Linked DNA regions of Homo sapiens: regions 1 and 2 are each linked to region 3. The links are contacts of gene promoters, found by promoter capture Hi-C in human tissues and cell types (Jung and others, 2019). All regions are on one chromosome and are shown on one strand. Each heading gives the region's core, a stretch centred on a gene start or on the middle of the fragment in contact. The rest is flanking DNA. Distances are from core to core; before and after follow the strand shown. Region 1 holds the start of C20orf173 (chromosome 20 open reading frame 173). Region 2 holds the start of SPAG4 (sperm associated antigen 4). Region 3 overlaps MMP24-AS1-EDEM2 (MMP24-AS1-EDEM2 readthrough).

What was found. Contacts are between HindIII fragments. The study calls those that stand out against the background at their distance.
Region 1: a contact is called between the fragment with the promoter of C20orf173 here and a fragment that was not itself captured in region 3, in 2 of the 25 tissues and cell types used here (dorsolateral prefrontal cortex and pancreas).
Region 2: the fragment with the promoter of SPAG4 here is called in contact with a fragment that was not itself captured in region 3 in 3 of the 25 tissues and cell types used here (dorsolateral prefrontal cortex, pancreas and spleen).

What each region holds. Positions count from the first base shown.
Region 1 is chr20:35,527,072-35,531,008 of GRCh38, reverse strand. It overlaps C20orf173 (chromosome 20 open reading frame 173), which reads left to right and starts at 1,357. Exons shown (of 6, transcript NM_001145350.2): 1 at 1,357-1,450; 2 at 1,585-1,944; 3 at 2,130-2,308; 4 at 2,465-2,558; 5 at 2,725-2,776; 6 at 3,759-3,937. The coding sequence starts at 1,636. The coding sequence ends at 2,751. The HindIII fragment of the contact is 31,043 bases long and covers 1-3,937 here.
Region 2 is chr20:35,614,226-35,618,151 of GRCh38, reverse strand. SPAG4 (sperm associated antigen 4) reads right to left here and starts at 2,323. Exons shown (of 12, transcript NM_003116.3): 1 at 1,845-2,323; 2 at 912-1,016; 3 at 566-632; 4 at 312-373; 5 at 22-65. The coding sequence starts at 2,148. RefSeq lists enhancers at 588-637, 1-817, 848-1,117 and a silencer at 1,548-2,277. The HindIII fragment of the contact is 21,465 bases long and covers 1-3,926 here.
Region 3 is chr20:35,257,304-35,261,235 of GRCh38, reverse strand. The region is part of intron 2 of MMP24-AS1-EDEM2 (MMP24-AS1-EDEM2 readthrough); the gene reads left to right. The region is part of intron 4 of MMP24 (matrix metallopeptidase 24); the gene reads right to left. Among named protein-coding and RNA genes, the nearest start is that of MMP24-AS1-EDEM2, 19 kb to the left of the region's middle. The HindIII fragment of the contact is 5,720 bases long and covers 1-3,932 here.

The sequences.
Region 1 (3,937 bases), core at 108-2,607, 270 kb before region 3:
GGGCAGATTACCTGAGGTCAGGAGTTTGAGATCAGCCTGGCCAACATGGTGGAATCCCGTTTGTACCAAAAATACAAAAAATTAGCCGGGCTTGGTGGCACGCACCTGTAATCCCAGCTATTCGGGAGGCAGAGGCAGGAGAATTGCTTGAACCCCGGAGGAGGCAGAAGTTGCAGTGAGCTGAGATTGCGCCACTGCACTCCAGCCTGGGTGACAGAGCAAGACTCTGTCTCAAACAAAACAAAAGAGACAGAGAAGTTTTGGGAAGGGTTGGTTTACAGGGAAAATCCTGGGTTCAGTCTCAGGCTTATTCAGGTGAGATGTCTCTGAGCCATCTAAGTGGCAATTCAGTAGGCTGTTGGATATGGGGTCTAGAGACTACAAGAGAGGATTGAGTTGATGTCACACAACTCCAGAGAGGGCATCACACACAAGTATATTTAAAGTTCCAGGCTGGGGCGGGGTGCAGTGGCTCATGCCTGTAATCCCAACACTTTGGGAGGCCAAGGCGGGCGGATCACCTGAGGTCAGAAGTTCGAGATCAGTCTGACCAACATGGGGAAACCCCGTCTCTACTAAAAATACAAAAAAATTAGCCAGGCGTGGTGGCGGGCACCTGTAATCCCAGCTACTTGGGAAACCGAGGCAAGAGAATCACTTAAACCCGGGAGGTAGAGGGTGCAGTGAGCCGAGATCGTGCCTCTGCACTCCAGCTGGGGCGACAAGAGTGAAACTCCGTCTCAAAATAATAATAATAATAATAATAATAATAATAATAATAATAATAATTTAAAAATAAAGTTCCCGGCTGGGCATGGTGGTTCACGCCTGTAATTCCAGCACTTTGGGAGGCTGAGGTGGGCGGATCACTTGAGGTCAGGAGTTTGAGACCAGCCTGGCCAATATGGCGAAACCCTGTCTCCACTAAAAATATAAAAATTAGCCAGGCGTGGTGGCGCATGCCTGTAGTCCCAGCTACTTGGGAGGCTGAGGCATGAGAATCGCTTGAACCAGGCAGGCGGAAGTTGCAGTGAGCCAAGATCATGCCACTGCACTCCAGCCTGGACAACAGAGCAAAAACTCCATCTCAAAAAAAAAAAAAAAAGTTCCCTCTCAACCCCTGTTTATTTATCCCATAAATATTTATTAAATGATTCTAAGTCTTAGAGCTGCAGAGGTGAAGAAGAGAGACTAGGTCAGCCCCTGTCCTCATGAATCTTACATCCAGTGGAGGTCATTTCGGTGTCAGAGAAAGGGTAGGGTGGTGGCTTTTTTCAGGCAGGCTAAAGGAGGGAGGTCACAATGTGTACTTTGTGATGAGATCTATGATATAACTGGGATGACAGCAAGGCCCCCACTGAGGTATTCCTTCCCCTCTCAGGACTAGCCACATGCTGTCTCTCTGCCCTGGCCTCTTCCACCCCATGCCCAGTCAGAGACCGTTTTGAGGGTGAGCAAATGGATAGTGAGGCAGGAGAGGAGGGGTTGGAAGGAGGTGGAAGGTGGTGGGATGGGGAGTTGTGGAGGCCGACAGGACAGAGGGAAGCTGGTGCTGTCTGTGGCCTCAGCCCCTCATCCTTACAGGTAGAGAAGCCAGTCTACGGCCCACCACGGGAGCCACCGCCTGGGCCAGACATGAAGCGCTGGCAGATTTTTGTCCTGTGGGTCTTTTGGGTGCTCATCCTCTGGCTGATGACCCCCTATCTGGATCTGACACCTGAATCAGCACCCCAGGAAAAACGAATGTACTTGGTACCACAGCATTGCGACTGCCCTTGGTTCAGTTCCGGGAAGTGTGGCTGCCCTTCTGAGACCCTCAACTGCTCCTCCTGCCACCACACAGCCGACGAATGGAACTGGCTTGATGCGTGCTCCAGGAAGACTATGGGGTACCTGATGAGGACAAGAGAGTCTATGACCTCTGACACTGTGCTCTGGTGGTTGGTCAGTGGTCAACACTGGGCCCGGCCATATCCCCCATGCTTTCCGGGCCTCACCCATCTCCCACTTTCCGCCCAAATCCCTGCCCTTGGCCCTGTCTTCACAGCCTCTGGATGGAGATCTCACCCACCCAGCTCTGTTTTCTCTCCCCTGGGCCCAGCCCCCAATCTCCCTCTTGCTGTTTCCAGGGCATGAACTCAGGGAGCGAGCTTGGGAAATTGTGGAGGAAGCTGTTTAAAGGGATTCCCAGGCTCTCGGTGAGCCATTTTGATTTCTATTGTGGGACTTGTGTGCTGTTGGGGCGCCCACAGATCCCGCAGGGCTCCAGCCTTGGCAACGACATCGACCAATACCCCGTGGTTTTCAGGTGGGTGCTGGGGAGAGGGCGGGAGCAGGAAGGCCAGGCCTGCCCCACAGTTCCATCAGTTTCTGCTCCCCTTCCCAAGATGAAGCAGGCCCCAAGTCCAGGGCTTTGAGATGGACGTGGGGAACCAAACCACACACAATGCTTCATCTATCCCAGGAATGCCAGCGACCAGGGCTCCTGGATGCAGCTGGAGATGCTACTGCGGAAGCTCTCTGACCTGGTGTGGACTTCAGATGCTCTAAGTGATAAGGTGATGGAGGTGTCCCCAGACATTCTCTGTGTGGGGGTGAGGGGAGGTCACTGCAGGGAGTAACAGCAGGGGCTCTGGGAAGACCTTCTATTGGCTTACTGGGGACACTTGCAGGACTTTCCCAGGTCTTGTGGCCCAAACTCCCCCACCTCCAATTCTTTCTCAGATTTTGGAAGATGGTCTGGTTCCCTAGTGGAGTGGAAGATAGCAAAGACACGGTGAGGGGGAATAGGAAAAGGGGTAGGATGTGGCTGTGGGTTGCTGTGGGAAGGGCCCCAGGTCAGTTCCCTCCCCCTTCCTCCCCAGGTGCAACCAGGACAACTGGCTGTCTTACCAGGGTCAGGGTCATCCCTGGGGCCCAAGGCTTTGTTCTGTGTCTTGCACAACTGTGCCCCGGCAGGAAAGATTCTTGTATCTTCTTCTCTTAAAATTCCTGCTCCTCAATGCCTTCAGCATGGAGTCTAAAGTTTTCTGCCTGGCTTTCAAGACTCTACATGTAGGCCAAGCGTGGTGGCTCATGCCTGTATCCCAACACTTTGGGAGGCTGAGGCGGGTGGATCATGAGGTCAGGAGTTCGAGACCAGCCTGGCCAATATGGTCAAACTCCATCTCTACTAAAAATACAAAAAATAGCCAGGCATGGTGGTAGCCTCATCTCTACTAAAAATGCAAAAAATAGCCAGGCATGCCTGTAGTCCCAGCTACTCGGGAGGCTGAGGTAGAAGAATCGCTTGAACCCGGGAGGCAGAGGTTGCAGTTAGCCGAGATTGCGCCACTGCACTCCAGCCTGGTGACAGAGCGAGACTCCATCTCAGAAAAAAAAAAGACTATACATGTTCTGACTCCTCCCCTTGCCTCCTGTCTCCCAGGCTCCCATAATGGGCTCTTAGAATTCCCCAGACACATGAGCTGCCTCATGCCTTCTCTCGCACCATTCCGTTTGCCTGGAATGCCCTTCTCTTACGTCCTGGGGGTTCCCCTCTCTTCCTCCAATACCATGAGGAAAAGTGAGTTGACATTCTCTTTTTTGGGATCCTCAGTGACTCTAGGAGAGTGTCCAGAGTCTGTTTCCTGGAGGTGAGCTCCAGTCTCCTCCCAGCTCCCAGGGACAACCTGTCATCCTAGATGCTGAGTGAAGGGAGGCAGGGGTGAGGACAGGAGTCTGCCTGCTGACGCACATGTCCCTCTCTTATCCACTAGGTCACCCTCTTTGGATTTGGATCAGAATAGCAAGGAAAGTGTTTCTATCACTGGAAGGAGGATAATCAGACCAAGGGCTCCAAGGAAATACTGCCCACGTCTAGTGCAGGAGCAGAAATCGAAGTCATCCATCAGCTAGCGTGTGGACAAGCTCACTATTCACACAAGCTCAGCCTAGC
Region 2 (3,926 bases), core at 1,074-3,573, 360 kb before region 3:
AAGACAGTCTCCCCAACTCACATTCTCCAAAGGAGAGACCAGGTACAGAAGCCCCAGCCAGAATGCTGGAGAAAGAGAGGGAGGGGTCTCAGAAGGAAAAGGAAGAGAATGGGTTTCCCCGGCATAGGGGGACAGTGGAAAGAGGCTTGAGGGGGTTAAGCCTGGGGAGGACCGTGGGAGTCTGAGGGGGAATTAGGGGGTTCTGCAGGGGAATGCCAGGAGCTGCAGGACCGAGGATGTAGGAGAAAATGTGCTGGGTTTGCCTCCAAAGCACCCAGGGCAGGGGCTCCAGGGAATTCACTGCCCCTCACCTGACAGAAAGAGGCTCAGCAGCGACACAGCCGTGAACAGGAAGCGGATGGAACAGACCTCCCTGGGGAACCGGAGGGAGGCTGAGGCCCCGACCTGCTCAACCCTCCAGTCCCCACCCCAGGGTCCTAGACCCAGCTCTTGCCAACATGACTCAATCAGATCTGAATCGGCTCAAGCGCCAGCAAGGTTCCGGCCCTGCTCCCCACCCCCTCCAAAGAGCTGTTCCTGGGGCGCCAGCGTCCCTTCCTCTGACCTGTACATGCTGACCAGCACGTCTCCTGCCAGGGATAACAACACGCTCAGCCCCTGGAAGAGCAGGCCTGAGGCCAGGACAGAGGGTCAGAGAGGGGCCCACGGCAGGGAGAGGCGGGGCTCAGCCTGCGTGGTGTCCGGGTTCAGAAGGGGCTTGGGAGGGGCCGGGGGTGGGCCTGGGGCTCAGGAAGAGAGGGTCGGCTAGGATAATTGGATGGGGGCTAGGAATGAGTTGAGGCTCGGAGAGGGGCTCGATACTCAAACGGGGGCCGGGGGCTCAGAGAGAACTGGAGTTCGGAGAGGGGAACCCGAGGGTCAGAGGGGATCGCAGCTGGCCTGGCCCGTACTCAGAAAGCTCTTGAACACCCGCGGGGGAGGCATCTCCTGCCTCAGATCCAGGGTCGGGAGAAGGTCGAGCGGCTCCTCAGAGACTACTGGAGACCCAGTCGGTTCTGCGGGAACCCAAGGGCTCCACTGGGGCCTTGCGGACCACAGACCTATTTTCCCCTCGAGACCGGGCCGCAGATTGCTCAGTCCACAAGCCAGACAGCTGGGAAGTCTCTCACAGGCTTTGGTCCCACCGCAGCCCTATCCCGGCTCCAGCTCCGCCCTCTGAAGCCCCGCCCCTCAGGGAGGCTCCGTCAAGAGTTGGTCTCCTGGCCGGGCGCGGTGGCTCACGCCTGTAATCCCAGCGATTTGGGAGGCCGAGGCGGGCGGATCACCTGAGGTCGGGAGTTCGAGGCCAGCCTGATTAACACGGAGAAACCCCGTCTCTACTAAAAACACAAAAATTGGCCGGGCATGGTGGCGCACGCCTGTAATCCCAGCTACTCGGGAGGCTGAGGCGGGAGAATCGTTTGAACCCGGGAGGCGGAGGTTGCGGTGAGCCGAGATCATGCCATTGCATGGCATGGGCAACAGGAGCGAAACTCCGTTGCAAAAAAAAAAAAAAAAGAGTTGGTCCCTCCCCCAAACGGATGACCCGCCCCCAGCCTTAGATCTTGGTGGAACCCAATTGTCCTGGGAGCCACTCACGCTAACATTGAGGCCGCGCCCCCTCAGTGGCACCCAACCACAAGATTTTCCCCGCCCCTTCCCATAACCGTCCAGGACACCGAGGCTCCGCCCCTTAAGGGATCTCATTTAGCACCATCCCTTTACCCTACAGGACCCACCTTGTAGGAGGTGCCCAGATATCATCTTAGCCCCGTCCCCGCCCAGCACCGCCCTTTAGGCCCCGCCCCCTCCACTGGCTCACCCGGGGTCGACCCCGCCCGCACCCGAGGCCCCGCCCCTCACGGTTGCCGCGCCACAGGCTGTCTGCCAGTTGTGGCTCCGAGGCGCTGGCTTCTGCTGAGAGCTTCCTGCCCATGTGGTTCCTCCGGGCACTCCCGCGCTCAAGGCGGGCTCACCGCAGCTCGGGCCCCGGGCTCTTCTGCCCTCGGGCTCCCCAGGCCCGGGCTCCGCTGACCGGAGCCCTTTGCTGTCCTCCGAGGTGATGCTCATTGAGCTGTTCTCGCTGAAAAAGTTGGGCGTGTGCTTGCGCGAGGACGAGGCCGAGCCCGGGCGGGAGCTTCGCCGCATCCTGACCCCCTGCTGCCTAGTCACTGACGCTAAAGCCGCCGCTGCGGTCGCCAAGGCCCTGGGGCCTCCTTCAGCCGCTGCGCGCCGCGGGGACCCCACGGACCCTGCGTGAAGTCGGCAGGCCCCGCGGCCGCACCTGCCCTCCCGCTGTGTCCCGGCCGGCTGCTGACGTCACAGAGGAGCCTCGGTCTCCGCGGGCTGCCCTGGCCGCGCGTCACGGAGCTGGCCGTGACGTCACCTGGAGCCGTAGCCATGGCAGCCTCTCCTTCTGACTTTGTTGTTGTTTAAGAGACAGGGTCTTTCTCATTGCCCAGGCTGGAGTGCAGTGGCCTGATCATAGCTCATTGTAACTTCGAACTCCTAGGCTCAAGCGATCCTCCCGCCTCGGCCTCCCAAAGCGCTGGGAGTACAGGCGTCAGCCACCGCGCCCGGCCTCTTTTACAGCAAGCGATGATGTCACAGCACTTCCCAGAAAACCCCATCTAAAATGGCACTCAGTCTATAACAGTTTTTTTCTTTCTTTCTTTCTTTCTTTCTTTCTTTCTTTCTTTCTTTCTTTCTTTCTTTCTTTCTTTCTTTTTTTTTTTTTTTTGAGATGGAGTCTCATTCTGTTGCCCAGGCTGGAGTGCAATGGCGCGATCTTGGTCCACTGCAACCTCCGCCTCCCGGGTTCAAGCGATTCTCCCGCCTCAGCCTCCTGAGTGGCTGGGATTACAGACATGCACCACCATGCCTGGCTAATTTTGTATTTTTAGTAGAGACGGGGTTTCTCCATGTTAGTCAGGCTGGTCTTGAACTCCCGATCTCAGGTGATCCACCCGCCCCGGCCTCCTAAAGTGCTGGGATTACAGGCATGAGCCACTGCGCCCAGCATTTTTATTTTTATTTTATTTTTATTTTTTGAGACAGAGTCCTGCTGTGTCGCCCAGGCTGGAGGGCAGTAGTGCAATCTCGGCTCAGTGCAACCTCCGCCTCCCGGGTTCAAGCGATTCTCCTGCCTCAGCCTCCCGAGTAGTTGGGATTACAGACACCCGCCATCATGCCTGGCTAATTTTTGTATTTTTGTAGAGACGGGGTTTTACCATGTTGGCCAGGCTGGTCGTGAACTCCTGACCTCAGGTTATCCGCCTGCCTGGGGCTCCCAAAGTGCTGGGATTACAGGAGTCAGCTACTGCGCCTGGCCTCTTTTAAAGCAAGTGATGACGTCACAGCACTTCCTAGAAAACCCCATCTAAAATTGCACTTAGCAAATACCAGTTTCTATCCCCCTTCCCTGTTTTGTTTTTCTCCTCAGCACGTGTCACTAACATGCTATATATTTCATTTCTCTCTTTCTTTGAGATGGAGTCTCGCTCTGTTGCCCAGGCTGGAGTGCAGTGGCATGATCTCAGCTCACTGCAACCTCCATCTCCCGGCCTCAAGCAATCCTCCCGCCTCAGCCTCCCGAGTAGCTGGGACTACAGGCTTGCGCCACCACACCCAGCTAATTTTTGTATTTTTTGTAGAGATGGGGTCTCGCTATGTTGCCCAGGCTGGTCTTCAACTCCTGAGCTTGAGTGATCCACCCACTTCTGCCTCCCAAAGTGCTGGGATTACAGATGTGAGCCACCATGCCTGGCCCATTTATTTATTTCCTTATTGCCTGCCATGCCCACTAGAACATAAACTTAATCAGGGCACAGATTTTCATTCACTACTGTATCCTCCAGCACCTAGATAAGCCTAGCATGTAGTAGGTGCTCAAATATTTGCAAATAATGAATGTTAAGAAGGAGCAG
Region 3 (3,932 bases), core at 446-2,945:
ACTCCCCTGGGCTTCTGTATTGTGCCTAGGACAGGACAAGGAGGCCTGAACTTAGGGGGATGAAGTAACCGCAGCTTTGGGGAGAAAATGCAGGGGGTAGGGAGTCAGGTAGGCTGTGGATCACCAGTCCTGACTCCTGTCTGCCCAGTGTCAGACCCTTGCTTGCCTTGACCTCTGGCATTTGTAGCCCCTTGAGCCCTGCCTCTTATCTTCTGGCCCTAAGGCATGGCTCGGCCCATTCCTGCCACCTGTAAGTCCAGGGAGGCTGCCAGGAACCTAGGAGGTGGTCTAGAGTCCTACTGCCCACTCTGGCCCCAGCGTCACTGGCCTAGGGACACATGGGGGTGGGGATTGTTTGGCCTTCCTGGCTTAGGTCTCTGGAAGAGAGAAGAACCCCATGGGGCAGACCCAGGCCACGGGCAGTACATGCCTCCCACACTACTGACACCGCCAGTGTCTTCTGTGAAGCCACCTTTGAGCAACGGAAAGGAAGGGGGATGGGCAAGATCAGTGCAAGGTTGGCCAAAAGCCTGGGGCTGGCCTTCTGCTGGCATGAGAGGGCCAGGCCGCCCCCAGCTCCTTACTCAGGTCCTGGCCCCTCTGGCAGCAGGGAAGGGTGAGCTCATCGCTGAGCTCCATCCCAAACAAACTGGTAGAGCCAGCGGAAGGCAGCTCTGCTTCCTGGGGTCCAGTCCTGGCTGTGCTCCTGGGCTATTCTATGACCTGGGACAAGCTGTTCAGGGCCTCTGTCTCCTGAGCAGGCTCTTCCCCAGGGGCTGTCCACAGGGAGCTCAGCTGGGAACCAGGGAACACGGCTCTGAGCACTGTGGGAGACTCAAAACCTTTGTCCGCAGCCTTGTCTCTTGCTCTTTTAACCCCTGTTCTGGGTCTGCAGAGAACAGGAGTGACCCCTTAAAGGAAAGAGGCCTGTGGTTTGGGTCCAGGAACCAAAAGGAAGGGAAGAGCGAGGGAGCCAGTATCCTGCTGCACAGAAACCCAAGAGAGCCCTGAGGGGGAGACAGAGGGAGCAGGGCAGGGGCAGGAGGACTCCCTGAGCTTGTGAGGTGAAGGCAGAGGTATGAGGAGGAGAGGCCTGCTATGAGGACCCCATGCTCCATGGGCAGGAGGCTGCTAGGGTCTTCACTCTTCAAGAGGGTGAGCGGCAGGGAAGCAGAGTGGTCAGGAATGCAGTCTCTGGGAGCCAGACTGCCTGGTTTTGAATCCCAGCTCTGCCATGTCCTAGCAGTGTGACATTTTAAATTCTTCCTCTGGAAGATAGAAGGAACAATGGCACCTTCGTCATAGGGATGTGGGTGAAGATTCATGGGGCAGGGTGTGTAATGCGCTGATACCAGCTCCTGGTACAGAAGTATTACCCTTCATTAGCAGGGTCCTGTTGAGCTGTGTGTGAGCACCAGCACCCCTGATAGGGTGTGTTCCTGTAAGTCCCTGGGCCTCCGAGCAAGTCCCCAGCAGTCTACTCGGCTACTCAAGTGGACCTTGTCTCTGCCTCATTTCTTTCTTTTAGGATCTCCATATTTGGTCGTTCCCATCTCATTAACTCCCCCAGCCCCACGAAAGGTGATAGCATTTCCCTTTGCCTCTGTTCTTCTGCCAGTGCTGCCCCTTCCCCTGGAATAACCTGATTCCTTCAAAGTTCAGCTCCATGCCTGTCTTCCAGGAAGCCTTCCATGACTTCCCAGCTGGCAGTGAGTGCTCCTTCTGCTGTGCCCTCCCAGCAGTTTCCCTGAACTGCCTTTATGGCACTGACCGCTTCCTCCCCACGTGATTGCCACTAGTGCACATGCTCGCTGCCCCAGGACTGTGGGTTCCTTGAGGACAAGCTTTGTGTTGAAGAACCAGGTGACAGCCCCCGGAATGGAACAGCGCCAAAAGCACCGTATTTTACCAAGGGAAATACTCGGACCACCTGCAGCAGAACCACCTGTGGTGACTTAAAAATGCGGAGTCCTGGGGTCACACCTGGCTCTGCCACTTTCCAAAGGGGTGAATTTCCTATTTTTTTAAAAAGTATTTTCTTTCTTTTTTATTTTTGAGACAGGATCTCACTCTGTCACCCAGGTTGGAGTGTAGTGGTGCAATCTCGGCTCACTTGAACCTCCGCCTCCCGGGTTCAAGCCATTCTCCTGCCTCAGCCTCCCGAGTAGCTGGGATTACAGGCATGTGCCACCACACCCGGCTAATTTTTGTATTTTTAGTAGAGACGGGGTTTTGCCATGTTGGCCAGGCTGGTCTCGAACTCCTGACCTCAGGTGATCTGCCCCCCCTCGGCCTCCCAAAGTGCTGGGATTACTCCAGTGCTCCCATCGCACCTGGCCCGGGGAGCCTTTTAAACACATGGAGGAGGTGGGGAAGATATTCTGATTCAGGAGGTTTGGTTTGGGACGTAGGCAATCTTTTTTGTTGTTTTTTTTTTTTAAGTTCTCCAGGTGAATTGTATAATGGTTGGGTCAGGCTGACACAACCTGAAGCAAATGCTCGACCTCAACATCACTAAAAGTGGGACAGTCTGCATCATATGTATTTGCTAATATGGTGAATAGGAAGTACCAGCACCACCTAGGAAGTATTCTTGCCAAAAAAATTGAACTTGAATCTAGTCAGCCTGTAAATCTAATGAACAACATTCAGGAATTATGGGCAAGAGAGACGTATTAAAAGTAAACTTGATTCTAGTCACGCCAAATGATTATACTCGGGACACCTGACCCAGTTTCTTCAACAAATATATGGAGGGAAACGTGTGTGTAGGACGGGGGTGTTTTAAATAAAAAGGGCTTTAAGAGACATGTCAGCCATGTGTGTGTGGATCTTGTTTGGATCCTGATTCAAGCAAACAACTGTAAAAGACATTTCCAAGGTACTTTGGGAAAGTGAACTCGAACTGGGTATTAGATTTTAAAAAATTATTGTTAATTTTGTTGGGCTTGATAATGATTGTGTGCTTATGTTAAAAATTAGCCTTTATCTGTTAGAGGTATATACTAAAGTATTTAAAGGTGAAATGTTAGAATGCCTGAGATTTTCTTTAAAATACATCAGCCAAAAAAAGGTAGATAAATAGGAATGCCACAACGTTGATAATTGCTGAGGCAGGTGGTGGGTATCTGGGAGATCATAGAAGCATTCTTCCTACTTTTGTGAGTTTGAAATTTTCCATAATGAGAGTTTAGAAAAAAGAAGTAAGCTAATAAGTTCAAAAAGTTCCCAGGAAACTCCACCCCTTTGCTGAGTCTATGTGGAAATTAAACGAGATAATATATGGATGCTCAATAAATTTTGGTTCCTTGCCTCTCACCCAAAACCTGCCTTCACTGCATTCCAGTTCAGGAGTCGATTGCTGTGGTCCTGAGCTGCATCTGGACAGTTCCTGCTTGGTTTTCCAGAGCAGAGCAAAGTCCTGATTCTTATCCAAAGAAAACATTAGCAATCTTGGAATTTCTATCAGAATTGGCAGTCTTTCATGAAGGTTAGGGTTGGACAGATGGGAGAGGTGCTGGGATGGTGCCCATCCACAGGTCCCCGGTCCTTCCCACACATACCACCGGCTCTTGGGATTTGGGGGCTGGGTCCAACAAGTTCTGCAAAAGCAAGGAGCAGGTGTGGGAAGTGCACACCCCCAGTGCTGGGCAGAAGGGGAGGGCAGAGGAGTGGGAGTGTCTTCCCGTTGCCTCTGGACAACTCTTTGGACATTCATTTGCCTCTATCAGGAATATAACTAAAACCCTATCAGCTAACAGTGCCTGGCACATAACAGGGCCTCAAAAATATTAGTTCTCTTCTCCTCACATCTTATCTGTTAGCACAGACAGCCATTCGTTGACACCGATCCAAAAATAAGAATGAGATAAAGAACAGGTACTCAGCCAGGAATACATGCAGGACATACGGGAGAGATACCAGGGCAAAGG